Linked DNA regions of Homo sapiens: regions 2, 3, 4, 5, 6 and 7 are each linked to region 1. The links are contacts of gene promoters, found by promoter capture Hi-C in blood cells and fetal thymus (Javierre and others, 2016). All regions are on one chromosome and are shown on one strand. The core of a region is centred on a gene start or on the middle of the fragment in contact, and the rest is flanking DNA. Distances in the headings are between cores, read along the strand shown. Region 1 holds the start of ZFAT (zinc finger and AT-hook domain containing). Region 2 overlaps TMEM71 (transmembrane protein 71). Region 3 overlaps CCN4 (cellular communication network factor 4). Region 4 overlaps NDRG1 (N-myc downstream regulated 1). Region 5 has its middle 120 kb from the start of ST3GAL1-DT. Region 6 overlaps ST3GAL1 (ST3 beta-galactoside alpha-2,3-sialyltransferase 1). Region 7 overlaps ST3GAL1 (ST3 beta-galactoside alpha-2,3-sialyltransferase 1).

Region 1 (3,823 bases), core at 900-3,399:
TCTAGGAGCAATCCATCTGCTAATCAATAAACAACATTTAAACGCTGCTGTGAGAAAGGCAAACCGGCACAAAACCAATACTGTCAGCAACCCAGAACAACTCTAATTTCCTGACAGAAATCGATTCACAGCAAAATAATGATTATTGTAAATATTTATAGTTCTAAAAGGAAACGCTCATCAATGCAGCTTTTTGAGCAGTTCATTTCCAAATAAAGATTCTGATGGGCCCCACCTAGCCATGTATCTTGTGGTGGAGGACGTGGTGGCTGTGAAGCGACTCTGTGGCTGTCTTGGAACTGGCTCTCTTGGAGGCTCTCCTGGAGGCCTGGGGGGCAGTTTGGGTACATTTTAGATGTGGTGGGGAGAGGAACACTGGGCATGGAGAGGCGAGATCCACACCTGGCTCTTCACTATTTTGCTGTGTAATCTCAGAAAGCCATTTGACCACTCTGAACATTCCATTTTCTCATCTGGAAAAGGACAATAATCATATTGCCCAACTTAACCTTCCAGATTGCGAGGATGAAATGAAGAAGGGGGAGGCTATATCTGTGAGCATATATTTAACAGACTGGACAACTTTAGGGTCTTTTCATGGTTCCGTATTTCCCAAGAACAGGGTTAAGGAGCAGGCGGGCAGTCTCCTGAGAAATCAGATGAGTCATCCTGAAGCTCAATGCCCAAGGGAGTTTTCCTCCTAAAAAATAAGTGACCCCAGAACGAAGTGTTCATTCAGTAATATGACTATGCAACAGGCGCTGAGAAAACAAGATGAAAAGGACCTATAAGGGCTGCTCAGGAAGCTCAGTCTAGTGAGGATGAACGCTGTGCAAACAGAGAAGTGGGGGATGGAGCTAGGCCAGTGAGACCAGAGCTGTGGGAACATGAAGTGTGAACTTCAGGGCTGTCCGAGAATTTCATGTTGAGCAGCAACCAAAGAGGGTTATTCCAGGAAAAGAAGAACAGGCAAAGACTAGCATTTCAGGGGAACCATGAACACAAATCAGTTTCCCAAACTTCAGTCTCCTGAAGTCTGCTTTTACACTTTTTTTTTTTGGGGGGGGGGGGGCATGTCTTTGCAGCATGTACACCATTTTAAGTTGACTGATTTTTGAAAATGTAAACGAACAATTTAAAAACTTTATATGACTACTGTAAGTGAAAAACGTTATTTGTCATGAACAGAAAATGACCTTAGAACATGGACCACATCAACTCATTACTCATGAAATAAATAACTGTCAGGCTCAGTTTGTTTCTGAGGCTAACGGGGTGACCATTGACAGAGGTAAGGGAGGGAGATAATGACAGATAGGAATGGATGCTACGTAGAAAATATGAAGTGTCTTGGAGGGTTACTTTAGATGGGTTTCGGGGGGTGAGGGTTAGGGGCTGGAAGATATCATTTGAGCCGAGGACTACAGTGTTGGAGCTAAACACCTTAACATCAAAACCAAAAACAAAGTCATTAAATTTCCACCAGACTCAGCTGCCTGCCGAAGGCTGTGCCACAAGCAGAGAAATGAATGAGCGGGTGTTGGAGGCGCGCACATCCAGTGCAGACTTGTTGTGGGACAAAAAGAGACGAGAGAGGAGGAAGTCGCCTTGTCACGTGTGATCGTAGGCCGCTCAGTGCTCTGTAGCCCCTAAAACCCAGCCGGGTGGCCCAAAGGAAAGCACCCCACGCTTCGGGAAACGCCGCAGCTTTGAGCGGGATGCAGGTTGGGAGCACCCCGATGGACACATCAGTAAACTGAGAGCAAGAAAAGTTAATTCGCTGCCCCAAGTTAGGTAGTGAGAGGTAGAGCTGGGACACGAAGCGCACCCAGAACTCTCCTTGCACGCCCAGCTCGGCGGCCCCACATGCCGCGGGTCTAGGGTCGCGCTAGCAGAGGCCTGGCACAACCGCCAGACTCCTGACCCCGAGATCCGCGCTCCGGACCTCCCGAGGGCCCCTCCCTGGGCGTGGCTCAAAACGCGGCGCAGCGGAATCCGTGAAGTGGGATAAAAAGCACGGCCTCCGACTGCGAGCATGCGCGTTAGCTCGGCCCTGCCGGGCCGCGCTCGGCGCCGGGGGAGGGTCACCCGAAGCGGACGTCCGCTACGCAGGCGTCTGCGCCCCGTGGGGAGGAGGGCGAAGACTCCATCCGCCATGTTGGATGCCGCAGATTCGCCATAACCTCGCCGGCTCTTTTCTTAAAAAAATAAAAATAAAAAGCGAAGCGTCAGCAGGGCGCCCCGCCCCCTCGGTCGGCACGGGAGGGGGCCCGGAAGAGCCCGAGGCTTTTTTTTCCTCCGCGGTGGGGCGTTGCCATGGAGACGCGGGCGGCAGGTGAGCCGGGCTGGGGGTTGGGGTGAGACGGGGTGGGGGTGGGGCGCGGCGCGGCGCGCGGAAAGCCGTTTCGAGCGTCGAGTCGGGAAGCAGTGCGCCGGCCGCCGGCCGCCGGCCGCCGGCCGCGGAGGGATCCGGGTCTGGGGAGGAGAGCGAACGTAGTTGCGTTCTGCGGCTCACGTTCAGTCGCTGGGGTATCCCGCCGCAAAAAAAAAAAAAAAGCAAGGCGGGAGCGAGTGGGAGAGCATGCGCCCGGCCGTTTCCACGGCAATGGGTGGCGTTGGGGCGCGGGCCAGCGACGGAACGCAGTGGGCGCGAGGTTCGAATCCCGGCGATGCCAGCTCTTTGACTGGACCTTGGCGGGGCTTCCTTCTTGCCTGGCCTCGGATTCCTCCTTGGCGAAATGAGTACCTCCTGCAGGCTTCCCGGCCGCCGGCTGGACCTAATAGAGTGACAGATCTTCCACTTGACACCCGGTGCAAGTCATTTAACCTTGAGCTTGGGGTCCTTCACCTGTAATTACCACAAGCTTCCACATTTGGGCACTGACTTAACACGTTTTGCTGCTCAGCTCTCTTGAGAACTCTAATTTGTAGGTCATTTATTATGAGGAACAGAAGTTCAGAGAGGTCAACTTTACACAGTTTAAAAACGACAGAGCTGGGGCTTTAAAAATTAACTTCCTCCAACTTGGGCTAAAATCCAAACTCCTGCGTGCTCGCCTGACTTGTACCTCCATCTTCTTAGAATAGGGCTTGGCTCATGTAAGTGTTCACTATATACTTAGTGAATGAAAGAACGAACGCGCTAACTGATCACGCCTGCCCATCAGTCTGGCTTTTTTTGCTGGAGTCCAAGTGACCTTTTGGAGATGCCCCGCACAGCTGCCTCTCACCAGCTTTATCTTCCGAGCCTACCAGTTCATCTACTGAAACATCTGTAGTGTGTGTCCCCATGCTGAAGGAAGTAGCGTGTCCTACCTCTAACCCCCAGGGACACCTTTCCTGACTTTAGTTCAAATAACAGCTTTGCAAGGATCCCCTCTGCACGCCAGGCAGGGGTAAAGAGCAGTCCCAGTCGTAGTCCTGCCTCCACCTGCTGCGGTGCTAGATGTGGGAGAATGTGTCCTGGAGTGACAGAGTGGGCCCAGAGCCGAATATTGGGTCAGGAGACCCGAACTATATCAGGCGTGCTTTTTTTTAATTTAATTTTTTTAATTTTTTGGGACAGAGTCCCGCACTATCACTCAGGCCGGGGTGCAATGGTGCAATCTCGGGTCACTGCAACCTCTGCCTCCCGCCCTCAGGTAAACCTCCCGCCTCAGCCTGCCAAGTAGCTGTGACCACAGGTGCGCTGATTAGCTGTGGTGCCCAGCTGATTCAGGTGTGCTGTCTTAGGTTAGCCTAAAATGAGCACCGGAGAGACTTGCTCTCCAAATACAGGTTGAGCATCCCTAATCCAAAAATCCGAAATCGGAAATGCTCCAAA
Region 2 (3,823 bases), core at 658-3,157, 2.0 Mb after region 1:
TTGAAGCTGTAGAATTAGCCTGGTTTGATTGATTGAATTACAGCTACAAAAACAATCCATTACTAGTTCTCATGTTACAAAATGTGGCCATAAGTGGTGAATCAGAAAATAATTTACTCCTACCTTATAAAGCGATTAGGATAGTGATACTATATACAAAGTTTCATAGTCAACAGAAGTTGGTTCTATTTGATGAACAGTAAATGATCAAAGTTTGCATAATTTACATACTTTGATATGTTTTTAATTAGTAATTGAGAAATTAAATCATGTCTTCATGGGAACTAAGTTCTAAAATCTTCCCAATGGTATGCTATCTTTAGTGCAACATTACTTATGCTGTTTAGGAATGTCCAGGCTGATAAAAACTATTAAAATCACTCTCTGTGACTACCTGTCAATGGTTCAAGTTGTTGGGAAAAAGACAGACACCAATCTCCAAGCACTGTTTGAAACTTGATAATGAAGTTGACTTGTGTCAGATGATTAAAATACACGTAAGTTTGTTTTGGGGCTAAATGACTGTTAGAACCAGTCATTTTATTAAGATTTCTTAATCAAATACCTCACTTTCATTATTTTCTTTGGATTACAAATCAACCTTTTTAAGTCTAGATTTTCCAAATAAAGTGTGGTTCTTATTTACAGAAAAATGTTATTGAGATGCACTGAGTGAGGCAATGGAAAATGTTCAGTCATAGAGGCAGACACAACTTTAGAGGGGTTGTGTCTTCAGTCTGGTCTCCTACCTTCAATTCTGTATCTCTGTATTATTTCAGTAAACAAATCTGACTAGTGCAATTAGTAGATGCCATCTGTTTTGGCATAATTTTTCTATTTTTAATATATAGTCCACCTTTTTTTTAACATCTTTTGCAGAGAATCTGTGAAGTTTGAGCAAGCGGCCTTCCCAAGATGTACCGAATATCTCAACTGATGTCAACACCAGTAGCAAGTAAATGTAGAAGAACTGTGATACGCAATTATCTTTTGAACGATTAGACTCCTTTTAGCAATTTCCTTGCTTTGATTTTGCTGATACTCAGACCATTAACCATCTGTCAGTAGCTTGTGCTTCTTAAATGCCAGTGTTCACTTTGGCAATGATTTTAACTTCATTTTTTTCCTTGAAAGAAATGTGGTATTTTTCCTTCTAGTAGAAAAAAAAAAATCACCGTTTTTTTTTAGATGCCTGTGCATAAATGTGAAAGGAGATTGTTTATCAGCTACTATTAAGATGCAAAACTGTTTGTATATAAAAAATGCTGAATGATTTTGATAGCTACTTGCAGAAAATAAGAGCGCTGTTAAAACGGTAGTGGTTTCAAGTTTCTTCCTTCCTCTTGTTATTTTCTCCCAAAACCCCACTTCTAACTCTCCCTCACACACCCACAGTTTTCTCCCTACAAATCAACCAGCCCAATCTGAAAGTCTAAATTCCTTTCTTTGTCCTAGATACTAATTGTCCATAATGGAATCAAATTTCACTAGCTTGTCTGTTAGGACTATTGACACCATCTCTGCACACGATAAAATTCTGCTTTAGAGTTTAGAATATTAATCAACTCCAACTTTCTCCAAGTAAAGTCTGTTGCCACGCCTTTGGTTAAAATGGAACGAATGAATGGATGATGTTTCTATAATTAAGAATACTCACAGTCTTTATACTTTGGAAAAATGTTATATAAAACAAAACAAAACTTTATTTCTTCCCCACTAATGTCTTTTGCTCATTATTTTACAGTAGAAGTGTCTTAATATGCACTAATGAGGGAGAGTCTAGAACAATGATTGAATTCCTCAGATTACTGAGTAAGCTGCAATAACCAACACATTGGGTAATTGATTTGGGTTTTCTCCTGCTTCACACAAGACGTTTTTTCCCATCCTTACATGAGCTCAGTTTGATGCTAATGATTTATTATTGCCTCATTCTGCACTAAGAAATTTTTTTTTTTTTTTTTTTTTTGAGACAGAATCTTGCTCTGTCGCCCAGGCTGGAGTGCAGTGGAGCGATCTCAGCTCACTGCAAGCTCTGCCTCCCAGGTTCACGCCATTCTCCTGCCTCAGCCTCCCCAGTAGCTGGGACTGCAGGCGCCCACCACCACGCCCTGCTAATTTTTTGTATATTTTAGTAAAGACGGGGTGTCACCGTGTTAGCCAGGATGGTTTAGATCTCCTGACCTTGTGATCCGCCCGCCTCGGTCTCCCAAATTCTGAGATTACAGGAGTGAGACACTGCGCCCGGAACTTCTAGAGTGTTATGTGGATGAAGGAACAGAAGATAGAAGCCTCTAGTTTATGTCTTGCTTCCGGTAGATCCCTGGTGATAAGGGTACCTGCACTACTGGAGTCTTCCTGCTGAAGCTGGAACATCAGCTATTCCCATCTTCTTACATGCCTCCACTGTTTGCAATTATACATATTGATACATGTATCAACATATGTAACTGTTGATCAGGTATGATACATTCTACTTCTCTCTCATTTGTTTATGCAGGTTCTTCCAGGTTGGAAAGAGAATATGCTGGAGAGCTGTCTCCCACGTGCATTTTCCCAAGGTATACTATGGGGCTTCTTTTAAAAAAATAATCATTCTGGCCGGGCGTGGTGGCTCATGCCTGTAATCCCAGCACTTTGGGAGGCCGAGGCAGGCGGATCACGAGGTCAGGAGATGGAGACCATCCTGGCTAACACGGTGAAACCCCGTCTCCACTAAAAATACAAAAAAAAAAAAAAAATCAGCGCTGCGTGGTGGCGGGCCCCTGCAGTCCCAGCTACTTGAGAGCCTGAGGCGGGAGAATGACGTGAATCCAGGAGGCGGAGCTTGCGGTGAGCCGAGATCCCACCACTGCCCTCCAACCTGGGCGACAGAGAGAGACTTGTCTAAAAAAAAAATCATTCTTCGCTGGGCATGGTGGCTCACCCCTGTAACCCCAGTACTTTCGGAGGCCGAAGTGGGTGGATCACCTGAGGTCAGGAGTTTGAGTCCAGCCTGGGTAAAACATGGTGAAACCTTGTCTCTACTAAAAATACAAAAATTAGCCGGGCATGATGGTATGTGCCTGTAATCTCAGCTACTCGGGAGGCTGAGGTGGGAGAATCACTTGAACCTGGGAGGCAGAGGTTGCAGTGAGCCAAGACTACACCACTGCACTCCAGCTTGGGCAACAGAGCGAGTCTCAAAATAATAATAATTATTATTATATTATTATTATTATTTTCCTGTATGTCTTGCTTTGTTGTATTATTGGTTTGAAATTATTATTTTAGCTATCATCTAGTTTTGAAAGGTTATTTCTTTTTGGTGCCATGTACATACTAAATAAAAACTTGCCTAATAGAATAATGAATATATATATATATATATATATATATATATAATATATATGTTAGTGTCAATATATGGGCAGTTGTGAATTGTTTCTCTGGTGAGTGGTGAAACTATTGAATACTGATGAATTGTTACTTTGTCTCAATCTGATGTCTTTTTAAATATGCTTTCCTATCTTGTTTTACAAGAGCAACAGAATTCTATACCAATGGCCGAATTTTATGCTCTACCAAAACATGTGCAGTCTACCATTTTCTTGAAGTACTACAAGGAAGTCTTTTTTCTTTCTTTTTTTAATGACTCTCTGACTGTCTCTTATTCCTTATACAGACATCAGTTGATGTTTCCCCTAGCATTGTGAAATGTGCCTATAGCATAAACAGATCATATATTCATTTTAGGACCTGCTCCTTCTTGTAAATTGTAGGCCTCCTGATACTAGCAAACGAATCAATATGAACAGAGGCACATGTGGAAAGAATCCATGTT
Region 3 (3,823 bases), core at 921-3,420, 1.5 Mb after region 1:
CCATGGCTCTTCTGTGACGACCTGCAGGGCCAGTTCCTTCACTCACCGAGAGTTCTTAAGGCCTCTCTGAGTCAGAGGACTCCTACTTAATACCGGTTTCGGCCCGCTGACCTATTATTATTTTTTTCCCCTCTGAGCATCCGGAAAGGGCTGGCGTGGTGCAGCGGCAGGTATTCAACTTTATAGCTCCTGGCAGCTACATGGGCCCCAGCCCTTGGGGAGTGAGTTGGCGCTTCCTTTGCCAGCACAAGCCCTACATGGAGGAGCCCTTTTATTTTGCTGTCAGGGCAATGAGACCCCCCACCCAACACATACACACTCCACTCTACCAACCCGCACTCCTCCCCAGCATCCCCATTCCCATCCCCCAGTCAACAGCTTCATCTTTATTTTGGCAAATATGATGGACACAAGAGGCCAGCTGGGAAGGGAAACCAAGGCCCTAAGAGCTGCCCAGGCCTGAGGAGCGGCAGATGGAGATGCCTGGGTGTCTGAGTGCAGGAGCTTCAAGCTGCCTGTATCTCCAGCACCCAGTCACCTGCTGTCCCATCTGGTTGCCCCCCTGAATCCCATCTGTGCCCTTTGCTCTATCTCGAAAGAGACCTGGGCCTGCAAGAGGAAGAGAATCGCCTGAGGACACAGGAGCGGGGACGGGAGCCAGGCTTTGAGTCAGTCCTCCCTCTCCTGGGCAAGCCATGGATCATCCTGCCCAGCACTTCTCGTCCTTGACGGCTGAGTTCTGAAGTAAGCAGAGGAGAATCCAGGGCTTCTGTGGGGCTGGGACAGGGGGCTGGCTGGGCTCTGGGCTGCTCCCTCCATCTGGAAGCAGAGGAGCCTGCTTTGTGGGATCACAGATCTGCTTTCCACTCGGAACACCAGGCTCCGGTGCTGAGCTACTCAGACAAATTCTTTCCTCCTTTACAGGGGAGGAAGGCAAGACCCGAAGAGACAGATGGACACTCCCAGGATGACACAGTTCACAGCAAGGCCAAGATGCAAATTAATCTCCTAACTCTCATTACAACAGCTTCTACTTTTGCCTCTTCTGGGTTCTTTCATTCACTCAACAGACATTTGCAGAGTTAGCTCATAGTCTCTCTTAAGTTTTAGATATTTGAAGATAAGCGTTAAAAGTCCCTATGATTGGGGAACCCACAGCTTATGGGAGAGGCAAGTATTAGAGGTGATTTACTACAACTCGAGGGATTTACTGCAACTCGAGGGATTTACTACGCAAAGTGCTGGGCATTCCAAGGAGGCATGGAAGCTCTCTGAACACCAGGGCAGTAACTGCTCTGCCCAGGAGAGTGGGGTCCACTCTTGCACCTTGAAGGACCAGGGATGAGGAAAGTGGTTCAGATGAATTTCTGAATTAGTCTGACTAGGCTCTGAACCTGGCGCACAATAAATGTAGTAAATATTGATGCAATAAATAAAGCCCTTGCAAGTCAACAGACAAAACCCGACTTGAAGCTTTCATCTCCCATAGGCTTGATTTCAGAACTTGGTCAAATCCACCCTTTCCCTACCTCAAGGCCGCTGCGATGCAGTTCCCTGTGGCTGAGAGGCCCTTCCTATCTTTTTCACCTGGGGCCCCTTTCTCTGGGCGGACTCTCCTGACTCGCTGACCTGCGTGTGTCTGGCTTTCCCTTAAGCCACTAGGCAGGCTCAGAAATTAGACATTTGTGTGTGTTTGGAGGTTAATGCCGGTGAACTCCATGGGGTGAGGGCAGGATGGGGCAGGCCCCCACAGAGTGCCTGCACATTGCCAGTCTTCACTGGGGACATATGGGTGACTTCTCTGTTATGGCCCAGACAGACACCAGAATGGCCAAAAAAAATCTTGCCTGCAGCCCCCTGCAGGGAGGAAGGCTCTGTGGGCGATGTGGCCTTGGAAGGCCTTGCTGGTAGGGAACAGAGAGCTCTTGGGGTTGGCAGTTCTGGGTGGTTCACCGAGGAGGCACTAGTTAGCCTGCCCTTGTTCATATTTCCTCAAAAACACAACAGGATGCAAGAAAACCCTACATATCCGAATCAGTAAACACACACACACACACACACACACACACACACACACCCCTCTTTTTGACTTTGGGGAGAGACATTTCCTTGTTAGGCCATGATTCTAGAAGCCTCAGAGCCTCATGAGCACTAGCAGACCATCTCTCAGAGCCACCACACTCAGGACGTGCTCTTGGCAGAGGAAATAAAGATGCCCTCTCCTCCAGGAAGGCTTCCCTGCCCTTACCTCGCTCACTGGAATGTGAACTTGGAAAGGGCAGGGCCCGGGCCTTGCATCTCTCTGTGCGCCTGAAACACAGCACAGAGCACACAGTAGGGCTTCATATGTGTTGACTGGTGAAATGGATGGATGGGGGATTGTCGGCTAAAAAGGCTTGGATATCTATGATATTTAAGGCATCATGTACTGGAACCTCTCCTCTGGGCCCTAAGTTTGAGTGTCAAGAAAAGAACATGCAACCTGAGACAGTCCGACGTACGTTCTTTCCGTGTGGCCTTGGAACAGCATCTTCATCTTTCTGAGCCTCAGCATTCCCATCTGTGATATGGGCACAATCACACTCACCTCCCTTTGGGGGCAGTTGGAAGGGTGAAGGGGCATTGTGGATGTGGCAGCACTAGGTAGGGCCTGGCACATGTCACATGGCACACAGAAGCCTGTCTCCTCTTACACCCATTTGGTTGTGTGTCCTCCCTGACCCCACTGTGCCCAGAACAGAGTTGGGGATCTGGACACTTTGAGCTGAGCTGGAATGGGTTGGAACCGGGTGGGTATCCCACTCCTGGGATCACTATCCATCCTCCTGTCTCCATCCCAAGTTAAAGATGCCCAGAAGGAAGCTTCCTTTCTAAGTGCCTGGAGGTGCCAGGGCACACAGCTGGTGAGGGGAAGCTGCAGAGAAGTCCTCCCTTGGACAGGGGAACCATTTATGGCATCCCTGGGCAGAGGAGGGAAGGGCTGTGGGCAGTCGGCTGAGCCAGCCTTTGCAATTGGCACCATCTAGTGGTAGAAAATCTCCCAGACTCAGGAGAAGGTGCTGGACAAGATCTGTGCAGGGGAAAACCCTCTGGACCCCAGGGCATGAGGACTGCTGGGTTTGGTGTGTGAGCCTCTGAGTGCCAGCTGCCTTGTCCAGCACTGACACATACCTAGGGTATGTCCAGCATAGACGCTTACCTAGGATTTGGGTCTGCAGGCCACAAGTGAGTCCTGACTCGTGATAATCGATCAATCCTCACCTCTCTGTGTGAGCACGAGGGAAAGCAGATGACTGGCGCAAGGGCGGTTTCCGCCCTCCAGCACTGACAGTTTAGCTGGGGATGTGCACGATGACTGAGTCATTCTAGGGACCGAGGATTATTGAATCCCTACTATGCACAGGATTTGTGCCAGGCTGGGAGGAGACGAAGGTGCCTAAGACAGAGCCCCTGACTGGCTCCCCACCTAGTGAGGCCAACAGACACATAAATAATGATTGCAATTCAGTGCAATCAATGCTATAACAATGGCATCCACTCATTTATTCATTCTCCCTTTCATTTATTTATTCAACACACCTGTAGTCAGCTTTTATTTTGTGCCAGGTGCAGCACTAGGTGCTGGGGATGCAGTGTGAGAGCCAAGCAGACCTGCCTGTGGGATGACAGGGGAGTGGCTGGGCTGTGTGTGTGCTGGGGCTGAAGAGGGCTTCCCAAGACAGGAGGCACTGGGAACGGGTTTTGAAGAGGGGGTGGGAATAGATCAGTGAGGAAGCAGGAGAGGGTACCCAATGCGCAAGGACCCTCAAGTGCACAGGCACTG
Region 4 (3,823 bases), core at 593-3,092, 1.4 Mb after region 1:
TTGTAAAGTGAAGACATCGAACCAGAGGTTCTCTCAGCTTTCCCGTCTCTAACATTCTGTGGTTATAGAACATGCAACATGGGGCCCAGTTGCCCATAGGGACTGCCTGCCTCAGCTCTCATTAAAGCCACATACTCTGGGGCCGCACTGTCTGGGCTTAAATCCCAGCTGTGACACTTTGCAGCTTGGTGTCCACTTGCTAACCTCTCAGTATCTTCATATTCTAGTTCTTCATCTGTAAAATGGTGACATTAGGACTTACCTCATGGGGCCAAGTGAGGATGGAGTGACCTAATTCATAGGGAACAGTTAGAACTTTGCCATAGAGGAGATGGGCAATGCATAGTCACTTTTTCACTTGCTATTATTATCTTTTTGGGCAAACCTCTTCTGTCAACAGAGCTCTTCCTGTTGGAAACAGAAGCCCCTGTCTATAGGCTGGGCTGGCAGGGCCCAGCCTGGGCTGATTGTTCTGAAGATGAATGAACCTTTACATTTGCACAGTTGACACCGTAGCTTCAAAGCATGTTTACATCCCAATTCTCACTTAGCCTCATAACTGCCTCTGATATGTCTTTTTAAAAATGTGGAAGCTTTGGTCCAAAAGTGAAGTTAGTCTAAAGCCAACTAAATGCTTTTAAAAGTGATAATTACCATGCACTAACCACATCCTGCATGCCTGCTTCTCCGCCGACCGTATTTCAACTTTGGTTCATGCAGGTCCCAGGTTCTGTGATCGTACTCATTTTGTAGAGGAGGAAGTTGGGTCTTAGGGAGGTTAATTTGTCTTCTTTGCATAGTTACAAAGTGTGGGACATGGAATCAAACCCAGGCCAGCGGACGTTGGTGAATAGACTGTTCATTTAATTTCCTTATGACTCTACATGTGGCTGCTCTGTTTTAGGTTCATAATTTCATAGACTTTTCTTTACAAATGTGTGAGGCAACCATCTCTTTTCCCCTTTTGCAGATTTAAAAATAAAAACAAACTGGTCCTAGACAGGAAGGGGATTGGTCAAGTTCATCCAGATAGCTGGTACAACTAGAGTTAGAAACCAAGCCTGGGGAGGCTACAGATGCTTGCTTATCATTCCACACTAAGGTCTGCAAACCTTTTCTGCAAAGGGTCAAATAGTAAATATCTTAGGCATTGAAGGCCACATGACCTCTGTTGCAACTGCTCAACTTTGCCATTATAGCAAGAAAGCAACCATAGACAGTATACAAGTGAATGTACTTAATGTGTTCCAACAAAAATTTAAAATGTGGTGAGGCGGATTGCAGTGTGCCAACCCCTACTGTATACTATGCAATTTCTAAATCTGTGTCCTCTAAACTCTGGGTCTGTGACATAGTCTTCTGAAATAGTCAAACAGAAACTTCTAGATAGAACAAATACATATCACCATATTCTTATTTCTCCCTTTTAAAAAACCCTGTGAAAATAGTATCCCACACTTTGCTTTATTCACTTGACATTTCTGGGAGATCTTTTCAACATCAGTCCATAATCCACTTGCTTTTCTCTTTTTAGGTACATAGTATTCCACTACATGTATTTGCCCAGTGCCCAGTATATGAACACATGTGTCTTTCCAGCCTTTTGCTATTACAGACAGCACTGCAAGAAATTTGCACCCTTGTATCTTTCATGTGTGTCATTACATACATGTGCAGGTACAGCCCTAGAAAAAAGTTCTCAGAAGTGGCATCGCTGGGTCCAAGGGTAAATGCATTTAAAACAACATTTTTTATTTATTTCGGGCAGCCTACTGGAATCCTTAGAACATTTTATGTATGAAACACATGTCTAAGAGCTTGCCCATTCAGGGTTACATGCCAGTGCATCTCTCAGTGAATATTTACCCTTTCTTTCAAGGTTTAGACGGAAATAAATTTCTTTCAATTCCTTAGATTGACTCAGCAAAGTATTTAGAGTTAGGCTTGACTATTGGGAAGTTCTTCCTTGTGTCTGTCCTCAATCTAGATTGCCACTATACTCTGATGACGTTTTGAAGGTTGGTGTTTGCTGTACAGAATGGCTTTCCCCATTCTTTCCCACCAGTACACACTCACATGCACATATACACACACAGGGCAATGGTATAGGTGCCAGCCACGTTTGTTTCCACTTGAATTTACCCAAAGTCCCTGATGTTCTTGCCCACAGCTCAGGGGATGTGGGGCTATTTGAATCCCCAGCACGAGGGCCTGTGTTGTCATCTAGTCTTCCAATCCCTGCCATCTAATGGGAGCTCCATTCCATCATCCTGTTCCCCTCATCGCTTTTGCATTTCGCTCTGCTGAGCCGTCTTGTTTTCTGGGGGTTTGTGGTGGGTGAGGCTGGGGCTCAGTTTTCACAGTGTTGGGACTCCATCTCTGGGTCAGTAGGAAAACATGCCAGCAACATCTCTTAGAAATGTTGGCCAGCCAAGACTCCAGTTGGTCCTCCGAGTCACACTTTCACCAGGCCAGAGGGGACACAAGACTTTTCTCTGTCTTCCTGGGCCTGTCCTGCCATGGACAGCTCTGGTAAAAGATAGAATTTGGGCTGAAACTCAGATTTTTTTTTTTTTTTTTTGAGACGGAGTTTCACTCTTGTTGCCCAGGCTGGAGTGCCATGGTGTGATCTAGGCTCACTGCAACCTCTGTCTCCTGGGTTCAAGGAATTCTCCTGCCTTAGCCTCCCGAGTAGCTGGGATTACAGGCATGCGCCATCATGCCTGGCTAATTTTGTATTTTTAGTAGAGACGGGGTTTCTCCATGCTGGTCAAGCTGGTCTTGAACTCCTGACCTCAGGTGATCCCGCCTGCCTCAGCCTCCCAAAGTGCTGAGATTACAGGCGTGAGCCACAGCACCCAGCCTGAAACTCAGAATTTTTAGATTGAGGGAAATGCTTAGAGGTCTCCACTGCCTCTTCTACTCACAAGAGACTGAAATTTAATCCAGGTCCAGATGACAGCAGCCATGGAAAAAATGTAAGGAGGACCATGATGTGGTCAGGTTTGAGTTTTAAAAGTATAGCACATGGGTGGAGCCGGGGAGACCAGTTAATAGTCAGATATCACATTTCTGTATCTCTCAAGCTTGTGATCAGCTTAGACCTTCAGCTTTTTATCTATCAAGGCTATTGTCAGAAAGGAGTCCAGTTAATGTGTCTGCTTTTCTGCTGGACTTCTATTTTGAGATGAAAAGGAAAGTCTCGGCTGGGCACAGTGGCTCACACCTGTAATCCCCAGCACTTTGGGAGGCCGAGGCAGGTGGATCATGAGGTCAGGAAATCGAGACCATCCTGGCTAACATGGTGAAATCCCGTCTCTACTAAAAATACAAAAAATAAAAATAAAAATAACTGGGCGTGGTGGCGGGCACCTGTAGTCCCAGCTACTCAGGAGGCTGAGGCAGGAGAATGGCGTGACCCTGGGAGGCGGAGCTTGCAGTGAGCTGCGATCACACCACTGTACTCTAACCTGGGCGACAGAGCAAGACTCCGTCTCAAAAAAAAAAAAAAAAGAGAAAAGGAAAGCCTGCCTTTGTGAGGAATTAAGGAGACCCCACAAAGGAGGAAGTGTAGGTACAGATTCAGGTCATAGAAAGGCCCATATGTCCCAATATTATTTCTCTTACAGAGAAAACAGATGAAATTGACAATTTTTTTTGTCTTTTCACAGACCATCACCGGCCTCCTGCAAGAGTTTGATGTCCAGGCAAGTAGAGGATGTGGCTTTCCTTCCCCTTCCTCATCCCGTCTTCTCTTTTTCCTTTTTCTTTCCATTGGTTTAAGTAGATCATTGTGCAAACATTGCGGGCAAGGGGAGAGAAG
Region 5 (3,823 bases), core at 358-2,857, 1.3 Mb after region 1:
GCAGGTGGAAAAGACTCAGCTGACTGATCAGACCCTGGGGCCCTCAGCTCAGTCACCTCTCAGCTCAGCTGTGAAAAGCAGAGGCTTCCTGTTTTCTGGGCCCCCACGTGGCTCCATGTGGCTCACCTTCCAGGCTGATGGGGCTGCCGCAAAGAGGAGGTTGTGTTTGGGTATAGAAAGTCAGTTCAACTGGATGAGATAACGAGCAGGGACATTTTGCTGCAATTCTAAGCCACATGCCCCAATTCAGCTTGACTCAGAACACAGCTGCAGGTGGTTCCTGAATCAATCCCTCCATTAGCTCAGAGCCCATACTGAGGGTAATGGGATTGAGGCCCTAAGACCCCACCCACTTGGAGACAGAAATCTGGGCCTCATCAGGCTATAGATCACGAAGCCCTGGGTCTGCATGTGGCCTGCAGGGAGTTGAATGAGATGGTCCAAGGAGCAAAATACAGGAAAGGAGGTTAGAAGAAGCAGCCAGGGAGGCCACAGGTCTCTGGCTTCGTGGTGCCTCTGAGGCTATAGCAAGGTCACTTCAAGGAGACTGAGGCCTTGCCCTGGTGACGCCTGTCCCCAGAGAGGTGAAGGGGCACCATGTATGGCCTGGGTAAGAGCAAGCTCTCTTTGGGATGGAGGTGGAAACTAGGCTGGAATAGAGTAATAGCTACAAAGACCCATGTATAAGGAGTGAGTAGGGCACTCCAGCAGTGTACCAGGAGAGAAACAGGGAAGGGCCATGAGGGGTGGGTGCAGGGTTAAAGGAGAAGGTCACATATTTGAGGAAGGATGCTTTGTCTAGCAGCAGAGACTGCAGCAGACTTAAATGCTGTCCAGAAGGAGCCAGTAGAGAGAGGAAGATGCAGCAGAGAGAAGGAGGAGTGTGGAGCAGGGCCCTCGAGAGGGAAGGGGCTTGGAGGGACCCCCGCCTCCATCACAAGAGGATGGTGAGGGGCCGGGGTGGGGATCCAGGCAGGGGCAGACAGCTTTAGCGGCACGAAGCTGAGGTCATTGCCGTCTGATAGCTTCCTTTTCCCCTAGAGTTGGGGAGATAAAATGCTGAGCTGAGGCGAAGGCAGGAGGAGAGAACAATGGAGGAACGTTTTCCCATGGACTGTGAACCGTCGGAGAAAATGACTGTGAGTACAGGCAGCTGGTGGCTAGGGTGGAGGGCCGGGTTGAAGTTAGAGAGGATGCGTTAGAGGGCGCCATGACTGGGTCATGGACACCCATGGACAGTCACAGGCCCCAGCAGTCAAAGACCGGGGTCCACGGATAGACCCTCTCTGCAAACCGGGAACAGTGATTCCGGGGGTGTCTGCCTCACAGGACTGTGATAAGCGAATGTGCTTTATGTATATATTTCACTTGGCAAATACGCACTGAGGGCCATGGGGACTAGAGATACAGAGATGGGCAAGAGAAGGTCTCTGCCACCAGAGTGTGAGAGTTAGTGGGGGGACGGGCGGGCAGCCAGACAGCTGCAACACCCATGAAATAAAGGAGCTTTTAATGACCGCGGCTGGTTCTTTTTCACACGCTGGCAACGGGGGCTGAGTGCTTTACCTCCATTAAGCTCGTTTAATCCTGCAACAATCCTGCCAAGAGGCATTGGTCTCTCGAGAGGGGAATTTAAAGAGGAAACTGAGCTTCACTCAAGGAGGTTAAGTGACTTACCAGGGGGTTAGGGATGTAGCCAGAACTTAAATCGCAAGGGCTGGGGTTCCTGAGTCCCGGGTAAAGATTGCAAGTGCGCCATACTCCCCAGGGGTGTGGGGACAGGGGACGGTGTTGCTCCAGAGAAAAGCACTTTGAAGATGAGTGCCCATGGCTGGCTCACGGCGACAGAGCTGGTCCGGCCCAACGGCCAGGTTTATTCATTAGGACCTTGGCCAAGAGCGCCTGGTGATGGTGGCCACCAGAGGGCGCAACGGACCCACCTTCCACCAGATTCAACATGGGGTTTGGTTGGGAACCAGACACAAGCTGAAAACCTCAAGGGAAAAGCCACACACCCACGTGTAAGGCCAGAACTTAAAAGAACTTGATCTTAGATAGTAACAAGGACAACACCTTCCAGATGAGGAGATTATATCTCTGTCATCCAGCTAACAAAATAGATTGAGAAGAAGTCTGTGTCCAGTTGGAAAATGTCAAAGCCCCAAGCAAGGGTGAGTGTCTGACCAGCTGCCCACGGCTTCACAGGGCCACGTGGCACCACCGGCTCCTGCCTGCCCAGACCTCCACACCTTGGTGTTTCTACTTGGCCTCCCTCTCCCACCCTTCATCCTTGACTCTGCAGTGATTTCTTAGCTGTGTGACCAATGGGGAAAACCTGACTTCTTTGAACCTCAGTTTCTTAATCTATAAAATGGGTATAAGGTGACATAGTATATATTAAGGAAAGACGGCAGGCAGACTTTTCTGAGTCCTTTCTGTGTGCCAAGCATTTCACACGCATTTTCTCCTTTAATTCTCACAACAACCCCCATGAATGACATGGGGGTGGTATCCTCATGGAAGATCTGAGGCACAGAGACTATTAGTTATGTGTCTGTAGCCACAGTTCATAACTGATCAACCAGGGTTAAAAACCAGGTCTGATTCTGTCTCAGTCAGGACAGAAGAGGCTGCTGCTACAATACTGACAAACTCCACAATCCCAACAACCTAAGATGGAACAACAAAGGTTTCTTCACTGCCGGGTCAAAGTCTGATGGAAATTGCAGTGTCCTACGTGAGCCCTGCATGTGGCGGCTCAGGCTACCCAGCTGTTTTCATCTTGGGACATTGCCAACTTCAACTTCAGCATGTGCCTTTCAAGGTCACTGCACAAGGGGAGAAGGAGATAAAGGTGGCTTGTTGGCTCCTAACTCTCCCCATGGAGTCGATACCCATCGCTTTCAATCAAGCTCTGGAGCCAAAACCAGCTACATTGTCCAATCAAAGCTGTAAGAAAACTGGAAGGTGCCTTGGAGCCTCCGGAACAGTGGAGGGGCACTAACCAGCTCCCTCATGCCTCTCCTCGATATCACAGGCCTGGACTTGGAGCCGACTGGTGAGAGGCTCCTGGTGCTGCCCTTGTCAGTGCTGAGCGAACACAGGCCGAGTGCTCCATTCTGCAGGCTCAGTGGGACAGACCAAGGCAGACCCTCGGCAGGGACTCCAGGGGACAGGAGTGCTGCAGGCTCAGTGGGGTGGACAGACCAGGGCAGGCCCTCGGCAGGGACTCCAGGGGACAGATGTGCTGGGATCAAGGCTGTTTACCCCAGTCTCAATCCCTGCCTCCTGCTGTCTGAAAGGCTGGTGTGCTGGATAGGAGCTGGGTGTGCTCCTGGTGGCCTCTGGCCCCTTCTGCAAAAGCCTGTTCCTACTGCAGACTCTGTGATGGCTGGGCTGCTGTCTCATGGGGAAGTGAGCTCTGTCCTCAGAGCCATATGGGCAAAGGCTGGAGAGTTGCTTTTTGGAGATGCTATACAGCAATTTGGACATCAGGGAAGAAACAATGGAAAGAGAGTGGGTTCTGCTAATGAATCCAGGCCATTTGCTATTTTGCAGACAGCTGGCTGCTTCCCTACACTGGCTTCTGGTGCCTCCGTTTCCAAATCTGTACATTGGAGGGCTTGGAAAAAAATCAGTCTGTCTTACAATTTTTTGCCTAATTGCTCACTTCCCAGGATAGTTACAAAGAAGTTCACTGAGGGTAGAAATGGTGTTCTTTTTTCCCTTCTGAATGTCCAGCACCTAACACAATGCCAGGCACATAGTAGGCGTGCAAATAAAAATCCTGTTTATTTAAGTAGAATAAGAGCTAACATCTGCT
Region 6 (3,823 bases), core at 665-3,164, 1.2 Mb after region 1:
GGCGCCTACCTTAGATCCTTTTACGATGCACCCCAGCCACCTTGTCCAGGGCCTGGAGAACGCAAGGACCAGCAAATATGCAGTCAATGAATGAGATGAATGGACAACCTTGATGGGCTGACGGCCCCGAGAAATGAGCAGAATTTGTGTTATCAATCCGTTTTTCCCATTGAAGGGATGGTTCGGAAGGGCTAGGTGACTTGTTCATGGTCACGCAGTGAGTAGTGTGGGACAGGCTGCTGAGAATGGAAATGTGACTCAGAGTCTGTGCTTTCTTTCTCAGTTCTCCCTCTGGACTGTTGGCCGTTTTGTTTCCCTTCATTCATTTCTGGGTTTCTTCATGACCCAAGCCTCCACTGAGCATTGAGTGTGTGCACGGGTGACAGGGTCACTGCCATAGTGAGGCTGAGTTTCCATCCTCACATTGCTCCCAGTCCAGGGAGGAGACATATGTGTGAAGAGCACAGACAGAGTGCAGCCAGGACCCTAGGGAGCCAGGAGAGGCCCCTAACTCACCCCAGGAGAGGGCAGGGCTTCCTCCAGGAGTCAGCACCAGCTGAGCCCTAGAGAATGAGTAAGAGCCATCGGCAAAGCAGGGTGGGGTGGTTTTCTGGACAGTGGGGACAGCCTGAGCAGGGACACGGAGGTAGGAGCAACTGTGACCTCTGGGTCAGTCACATTGCTTCAAGTTACAAATAACCTACTTTACCCCATAAAGGGGATTTATTCCCTCATGTAACTGAAAAGTCAAGGTGAGGGTGGGGCTGCAGGTTGAGCAGGATCAGGGATTTAGCACCATTTGTTCGGGTTGTTCAGCTCTAGTCTCTTCTACACACGCTAGCAAAATAGCCAGCAGGATGTTCCACATGTCAACAACAAGCCAGCCAGAGCAAAAGAAAGTTTCTTCCCTCCCTACAGAAGCTTGGCTGGATGAATTAAGGCACATGCCCATCCCTGGATCAATTACTGGGGTAAGAGGTGGGAACCCTCTGCCAGTCAAGTGAATTGTGAGCCTATCTGTGATGATGCAGAAGTTATTCTTACTTAAATTACAGAGCTGCTCCTTGATGGGGGCAGGTGGGGAGAGAATTGGATGGGATACCTGTGGACACCACTAGGTTATAAACAAAATCTAGGTTGTCATGAAAAGTGAAAACTGGAGCAGAGACCGGATAAAAATGACGTTGCCAACTGAGCTGCAGAGCTCAGACCTTGTCCTCCATACGTTGGGCTTCTAGTTCTGGAAGCTGTAGAGGGTTGCACCCTATGCATCTTGGGCCCTGGATGTCTTCAGAAGGGCACTGTGGATTTAATATGGTTTTGGAGCTGTCCCCCTTTCTACCAAAAGGTGATCAATCTCCTTTCAACTCTAATTTTCCTGGAAAAAAATATACCCTGCTTATTGACAATCTACACCTTGAGAATGGGGAGGAATCGATCAGATTTCTTCCATTCTTCAGCATTCCAAGCAAAGACCAAAAAGACCACGCTCCAGGGCAGACGTGCAACCACAGTTGTACCATACAGAAATCCCAAGGTGTCGGTGAGAGCCAGAGGGGTCTCCGATGGGCATTTGAGAGGTACCTGTTTGCCTTCTTCAAAAGAATACTCCCCCCTTGCTCTATATCCCTCCAGCCGTAGTAATCTGAAGACCAGTTAACAAGACAGGTGTCTGCTCCAGGGTAGAGCCCCCCAACCCCCTGTTCCTGGTCCCCCAACCCCTCCCGATGTAAGGAATCAGAGGACTGTGGATTTGGACTCGGATCCTGCTCCTTCCTTTCCTTAGGCAAGTCATCTAAGCACTTTGAGTCTCAGTTTCTTCCAAGACAAAAAGGGAAACTAATATCTAGCTGACAGTATATTCTGAGGATTATCTGAAGAGATACGTATGCATGAATATCTCATCCTCTCAGCTCTTAGTGGATCATCAGAGAATATTGATTCATTCACATGTTGAAGAAGAAAAATTAAAGTTCAGCAATGGCCTAATAGATACCAGAAGCCCAGCATACATCATTTTATCTTATCTTCATAACCATTCTATAAGTAGGGGTGTTAGTATCCCACTTTGCAGAAGAAGAAACTGAGGGTCAGGAAGGTCAAATAACTTTCCCAAGGCTCCACAGCTGGGAAATCAGAACTTGAACCTGGACCATCTAAAGCCCCTTTTTATGGAACTGAGGCCAATTGGCAGAGCTTGAATGCCCAGGTAAAAGGAACCCTGGGCCACTCTCTAAGCATACCATTGTTGTTGTGCTTGTTGCTGAAATCCAAAATCTGGAAGAGAATGAAGTAGAGAGAAAGGCAAATAACATGCATTTAACAATTCCTGTGTATATTGTACCTACATGCATCACGAGCTCTTTGACAAATGTTTGTTGAGTGTGTCAATGTGCTAGGTTCTTGTTGGAAACATGGAGGGGACACCTTCTGCATCCCATAATAACCTTGCAAAGAGATGATAACATCCATTGTATGCACGCACTCAGGCTCACAAAGGTAGATAAACCATCCAGAGCCACCTGCCAGGTTGGCATGACACCAGAAGGAAGACCACGGAATACGTCCTGGTGGAGATGTGGAGAGAAACATTTTTTATAGCAGGATCACAGAATCTCACGCTGTTTTCTTCCTCCTTTTCTTTGCAGATGACAGACAACCTTCTGTGCCTTCATCAAGCTGGTTGTGTACCCACCATGTCCCTGGCGACAGGATGGGAAAGAAAAAGCCCTAATTAAGGATCGTCAGAAACCACAGTTGGAGGAGGACGGCAGAGACAGTTTCCCTCCCCGCTATACCAACACCCTTCCTTCGAGGTCCTCGCTCCTGAGGGACCCTGGACTGTCACAGAGATTAATGACCCCTTATCTTCTTTGGATGTGAAAGGAAATCACTGGTTAAAGCTTGATCGAGAGACATTATCAGCTCTTTAAGGATTGCAGAAGAATAGGCTACTTTATTTTCTGAAAAGGTAAATATATGCAAGCAAAGCCAACATGCCACGAATGGCGTTGGTCTACCACACAGCCGTGTCTGGGACACAGTTGGGGGTCATCCCCCAGCAGGAGTGAAGTCGAGCTTAGCGGCCCTTGTGTCCTCCCTTGGAATTCCTGCCATCCCTTTTGATTGAGCCTCCACCTCTGGGATTTTTCTTCCATTTTTCTCCTCTCTTAGGAGGGAGTTCCTGCTACCCATCGTGGGAGGCCACCATCAGGACTGCGAAGATGGTGACCCTGCGGAAGAGGACCCTGAAAGTGCTCACCTTCCTCGTGCTCTTCATCTTCCTCACCTCCTTCTTCCTGAACTACTCCCACACCATGGTGGCCACCACCTGGTTCCCCAAGCAGATGGTCCTGGAGCTCTCCGAGAACCTGAAGAGACTGATCAAGCACAGGCCTTGCACCTGCACCCACTGCATCGGGCAGCGCAAGCTCTCGGCCTGGTTCGATGAGAGGTTCAACCAGACCATGCAGCCGCTGCTGACCGCCCAGAACGCGCTCTTGGAGGACGACACCTACCGATGGTGGCTGGTGAGATGCTGCCTGAGAGCGGGGTCTGGGCTGAGAGTTGGGGTGTGGACTGAGAGTGGGGTCTGGGCTGAGAGTGGGGATCTGGATAAGAGTGGGAGGCCTGGGCTGAAAGTGGGAGTCTGGGCTGAGGGTAGGGGTCTGGTAATGAGAGTGAGGTGCTCTCAGAGTTAAATGCTCAGTCCCCGTGTACACCTGGGGCCCTGCCAGGCAGTTAGTAGGATTCAGATTATTGTCCCACACTATTTATTGAGGATCTATTATATCTAAGTCAGAGCAGGAAGCACGGCTTTAGT
Region 7 (3,823 bases), core at 416-2,915, 1.2 Mb after region 1:
TAATTAAAGTCCCCAAGCCCAGATAACCTTGCTTTCCTGTCCTTAGCAAGCTCTGGCTGGACAAGAATTTTTAAAATGTGTTTGTTGATCTTTTAAAACCCCTAAGATGAGTATTTACTGCCAAAATGTGCAAGTGTATCACAAGGATTTAATTCAGGCACTAGATAATAATGCTGGAGATTTAAAGAAGGAAAATGACGAGGTTTTCATTTCTTTGCCCTCTATCTGCTATGGCTACAAGCACTTCTGTTTATCATTTAAAATCCTATTTGAAAAGGTCACTGGTTATTTGCGTGAATCATACAGTGTGAGGACTTAGGAAAAAAGAGCCAAAGATTGGCCGCCGCAGTCACCTGCTTCATTCCCTGTCCTTCCCCTGTGATGGAGTTTGCTCCGAGTCTCTGCTGTTCTCAGCTTATGGTGGCCACCATGGGGTACAGGAGGACCACTGGGTCCAGGCAACATGACGCTGTCAGTAATGATGAGAAAACCAGACACTGCTCAGAGTGCATGGAGTTTGTAAATCCACTTGAAATTGGGCTGGTGCAACTGAGGAACGGTGCTTTAAATTTTATTCCATTTTAATTATTAGCTAATTATTTTAATTAATTAGCTAATTAATTAGTGGCACTAATTAGTTAATTAATGCAATTGAAAAACTGCATTTTAAACTGAAATTTTCAATCCACTCTCATTTTTACTTGCATTCCCATTTTACAGAGGAGAAGTCTGAGGGTCCAAATGCTTTAGCACAGGTTTAGAATTGCCCGGCATGTACATAGTGGACCCGCTCTCTTCAGATAGGTGCAGACTATCTCTGAAAGCTCACTCTGCCTCAGTTCCTCTCTAACGATGTGCAGCAGGTATTCACCAAGCTTCCAGTAGCCTGTGTTTCACATGATGTGAGGTGAAGGGGTGATGGTATATTTATTGGCCTCGTATCTGATAGTTGCCTGCACATTGTGCCCAGAGAAGCACTTTGGGAAGTGGAGCTGGTGTTCAAAAGGCCACTAATTGGCTTATTCCCCAGGATTCATCTTCAGTTGTTGAAATCTATTTTTTGAAAGGCTTAACCTGGGAAGTCCCCTGAAAACAGGTGTGTGATGCAGTAGGGACAGCGGGAAACCAGGGGAAGTTTCCAGAGAGAAGTGTGAAGAGCCATTCTCCATTGCTATTTTTTTTTTTTTTTTTTTTGAGACAGAGTTTCACTCTTGTTGCCCAGGCTGGAGTGCAATGGTGTGATCTTGGCTCACTGCAACCTCTGCCTTCTGGGTTCAAGCAATTCTCCTGCCTCAGCCACCCGAGTAGCTGGGAATACAGGCGTGTGCCACCAAGCCCAGCTGATTTTTTGTATTTTTAGTAGAGATGGGGTGTCACCATTTTGGCCAGGCTGGTCTCGAACTCCAGACCTCAGTTGATCCACCCGCCTTGGCCTCCCAAAGGACTGGGATTACAGGCGTTAGCCACGGTGCCTGGTCCTCCTTCACTAATTTTTGCTGGGTTACATTCACTGCCCTCCAGAGGGACATGATCAGCTCTGCTTCCCTCACTGACCTCGTCCTGTAAAATTATCCCTTTTACTCAGCACACCTGTCCCACACCGGCTGAATACCACCAGCTACTTTCCACCCTGTGATCTCCCACTGGCATGTCCCTCCGCCTGAGCTCCGCTCTCCTCACATGGTGTTTGCAAGCGGCTCACTCAGGAGCTCAGTCTCATGGTCCCCCTGGTGCCCCACGCCCTGTCATTTGCAGTGATGTTCTGTGATCCTCACAGGAGGCTTGTGAAGTCCTATTCTCATTTTACAGATGAACCTTAGAGAGGCTCCATAGCTAACTCAGAGTCTCCCGTCAAGTGAAACACAAGGGTGGAACCCACGTCTGTCTGGCCCTAGACCCTGTGCCTCAACTGCACAACCAGTGTTCTCCGATAGAACTTTCCCAGTGATGGAAATATTCAATATCTGTACTGTCCTGTTCAGTAGCCGCTCACTGCATGAGGCTACTAAGCACTTGAAATTTGGCTGGTGACACTGAGGAACTGTGCTTTAAATTTCATTCAGTTTTAGTTAATTAGCTAATTATTTTAATTTATTAGCTAATTTAGTTAGGAACACTAATTAGTTAATTAATGAGTGCATCTGAGGAACTGCATTTTAAACTTAAAATTTAATTTTAATTGGAAATAGCCACATGAGGCTAGTAACTGTAAAGAACTGTGACAAGCCTGAGATGTCTCCCTATTTGCAAGCTGACAAATTAGCCTGCTGACAGATGCTGGCAGAAGACAGGAGCTTCCTGGATCAGAGACAAGGGACTTCATTACTCAAAGCACAGCGGGCAGCCAGCTTGAGTTTCATACTTGCGTCATTTCTGCTTGCCTCTAAGTCTTATGGGGTTTTGTGCAAAAGCATTTACCATTATCTGCACTGTTTTGTATGATGCACAAGCTTTCAGAGAGGGACTATATATTTCACTCCTCATTGTATCTCCAGTATCCCAAAGAGAGCCTGGCACATTCTTGGGACCCAACGAGTCTTTACTAAATGACCAATGGCTCTGGTTCCTCACAAAAGCCAAGAGTCTGGACTCGGTGGTTATAGAGGATCCTCCCAGCTCTTGAGAAAGGTCTCTGAATTTGAGCGAGTGCCCTGCTTCTGAGATTGTCTCTTCCTTACAGTCGCTGCAGAGATCAGCCTCAAACAGGGATCTCAGTTTCCTCCCTGTAGAACCTGAGTCTGGGACTCCGTGCACGTAGATTGCAGAGGAAGTGTTCCAGGGAAAGGGTGGGGGACACAGGGCTACGCAGGGGAGCTGCTGAGCAGGGATGTGCTCCCAGCTAGAGTCAACCTTCAGCCTGATCCCACGGCCAACCCCAGAGCACAAACTGTACCATGAGGCTGTCCCACAAACCTGAAAATTTGGCCTGGACTCAGGGACATTTGGGAGCCTCAGAAGATTATAGGCAGCAGAAAGGAAAGACAGGAATCCGATAATTCCACATAAGAAACGTGTTCTGGACTCTGGAGTCCAGGTAGTTTGGTGTTTGAATCAGACTCCAGGTGGCAGTAGGGAAGAGAAATGAGTGTGCCTCCACGCTGTTGGGGAAAGATGCCTTTTTTTCAACTCTAGTACTTACCATCAGTGGGGGAAACTGAAGGAAAAGGTAAAGGAGGCCAACCCTGTGTAACCCCATGTCCCTCTGTCATTGTCTGTGGGCTGCCTAGGGTGTGGGGGGTGAGAGGGTGGGCACCTCCCAGGGGAGGCAGCTCCTCTGTGGCCAGAGGCAGTTCTCTGGATCAAGGGACAGCTGTGAGCTGTCAGCAGCCAATAGTCACAGCAGCTGAGGGGTGGTGGCCCAGCCAGAAGAGGCCTCTGGGCAGAGTGCCAGCAGCATCTACTCTGCAGGGACCCAGCACCTTCCAGGTAGCCTGACCCCAGCTAAGGAAATGAAAACCTGAAACCTGCCTTTCCAGGTGAAGTGGCTCCGAGGGTCACCGGGCGTAATTTGCTACCTAAGGAAAGTCCAGTGGTTCTTGATTACCATCCCCTGCCCTCCATGCTGCTCAGGTTTCCTGCTCGTCCTTTGGGCTGGCCTGGAGAAGAAAGAAACAATACGTCTTCTTTTCTTCATGTCCCTACAATGTGCCAGGAACTCTCCAAGAGACTTGGCCTATATTATCTCATCTAACTTTCCCAGCAACCCCGAGAAATGGGCCTGGTAATGCCCGTGCCTGCAAGGTGGAAGCCGTGGCTGGCAGAGGTGAAATACCTTCCTGGGAATACCTTCACAGCTAGGAATGGCAGTGCCAGGACTCGAAGC

Evidence for each region. The method cuts DNA at HindIII sites, captures the fragments that hold promoters and counts their contacts. A CHiCAGO score of 5 or more calls a contact.
Region 2: a contact is called between a fragment that was not itself captured here and the fragment with the promoter of ZFAT in region 1, in 3 of 17 cell types (fetal thymus, non-activated CD4 T cells and naive CD4 T cells). The highest score is 9.3, in fetal thymus.
Region 3: a fragment that was not itself captured here is called in contact with the fragment with the promoter of ZFAT in region 1 in 1 of 17 cell types (fetal thymus); the score reaches 6.6 in fetal thymus.
Region 4: a contact is called between a fragment that was not itself captured here and the fragment with the promoter of ZFAT in region 1, in 1 of 17 cell types (naive CD8 T cells). The highest score is 5.2, in naive CD8 T cells.
Region 5: a fragment that was not itself captured here is called in contact with the fragment with the promoter of ZFAT in region 1 in 1 of 17 cell types (fetal thymus); the score reaches 7.1 in fetal thymus.
Region 6: a contact is called between a fragment that was not itself captured here and the fragment with the promoter of ZFAT in region 1, in 1 of 17 cell types (fetal thymus). The highest score is 6.9, in fetal thymus.
Region 7: a fragment that was not itself captured here is called in contact with the fragment with the promoter of ZFAT in region 1 in 3 of 17 cell types (erythroblasts, monocytes and naive B cells); the score reaches 7.7 in erythroblasts.

The regions. Positions count from the first base shown.
Region 1 is chr8:134,711,357-134,715,179 of GRCh38, reverse strand. ZFAT (zinc finger and AT-hook domain containing) reads left to right here and starts at 2,149. Exons shown (of 16, transcript NM_020863.4): 1 at 2,149-2,335. The coding sequence starts at 2,317. RefSeq lists an enhancer at 2,138-2,317. The HindIII fragment of the contact is 8,105 bases long and covers 1-2,866 here.
Region 2 is chr8:132,755,972-132,759,794 of GRCh38, reverse strand. It overlaps TMEM71 (transmembrane protein 71), which reads left to right. Exons shown (of 10, transcript NM_001382403.1): 2 at 880-955; 3 at 2,501-2,561. The coding sequence starts at 916. Among named protein-coding and RNA genes, the nearest start is that of TMEM71, 2.7 kb to the left of the region's middle. The HindIII fragment of the contact is 4,357 bases long and covers 1-3,823 here.
Region 3 is chr8:133,208,641-133,212,463 of GRCh38, reverse strand. All of the region lies in intron 1 of CCN4 (cellular communication network factor 4), which reads right to left. LOC102723635 (a long non-coding RNA gene) reads left to right here. Exons shown (of 3, transcript XR_428405.3): 2 at 600-744; 3 at 925-1,461. Among named protein-coding and RNA genes, the nearest start is that of CCN4, 20 kb to the right of the region's middle. RefSeq lists an enhancer at 1-688. The HindIII fragment of the contact is 1,389 bases long and covers 1,476-2,864 here.
Region 4 is chr8:133,280,116-133,283,938 of GRCh38, reverse strand. It overlaps NDRG1 (N-myc downstream regulated 1), which reads left to right. Exons shown (of 16, transcript NM_006096.4): 3 at 3,672-3,707. Among named protein-coding and RNA genes, the nearest start is that of NDRG1, 15 kb to the left of the region's middle. The HindIII fragment of the contact is 2,493 bases long and covers 596-3,088 here.
Region 5 is chr8:133,447,755-133,451,577 of GRCh38, reverse strand. No RefSeq gene overlaps it. Among named protein-coding and RNA genes, the nearest start is that of ST3GAL1-DT, 120 kb to the left of the region's middle. RefSeq lists silencers at 1,909-1,958, 2,130-2,288. The HindIII fragment of the contact is 4,849 bases long and covers 1-3,823 here.
Region 6 is chr8:133,475,426-133,479,248 of GRCh38, reverse strand. It overlaps ST3GAL1 (ST3 beta-galactoside alpha-2,3-sialyltransferase 1), which reads left to right. Exons shown (of 10, transcript NM_173344.3): 4 at 2,649-2,971; 5 at 3,175-3,530. The coding sequence starts at 3,225. Among named protein-coding and RNA genes, the nearest start is that of ST3GAL1-DT, 93 kb to the left of the region's middle. The HindIII fragment of the contact is 1,982 bases long and covers 924-2,905 here.
Region 7 is chr8:133,507,431-133,511,253 of GRCh38, reverse strand. All of the region lies in intron 2 of ST3GAL1 (ST3 beta-galactoside alpha-2,3-sialyltransferase 1), which reads left to right. Among named protein-coding and RNA genes, the nearest start is that of ST3GAL1-DT, 61 kb to the left of the region's middle. The HindIII fragment of the contact is 1,575 bases long and covers 878-2,452 here.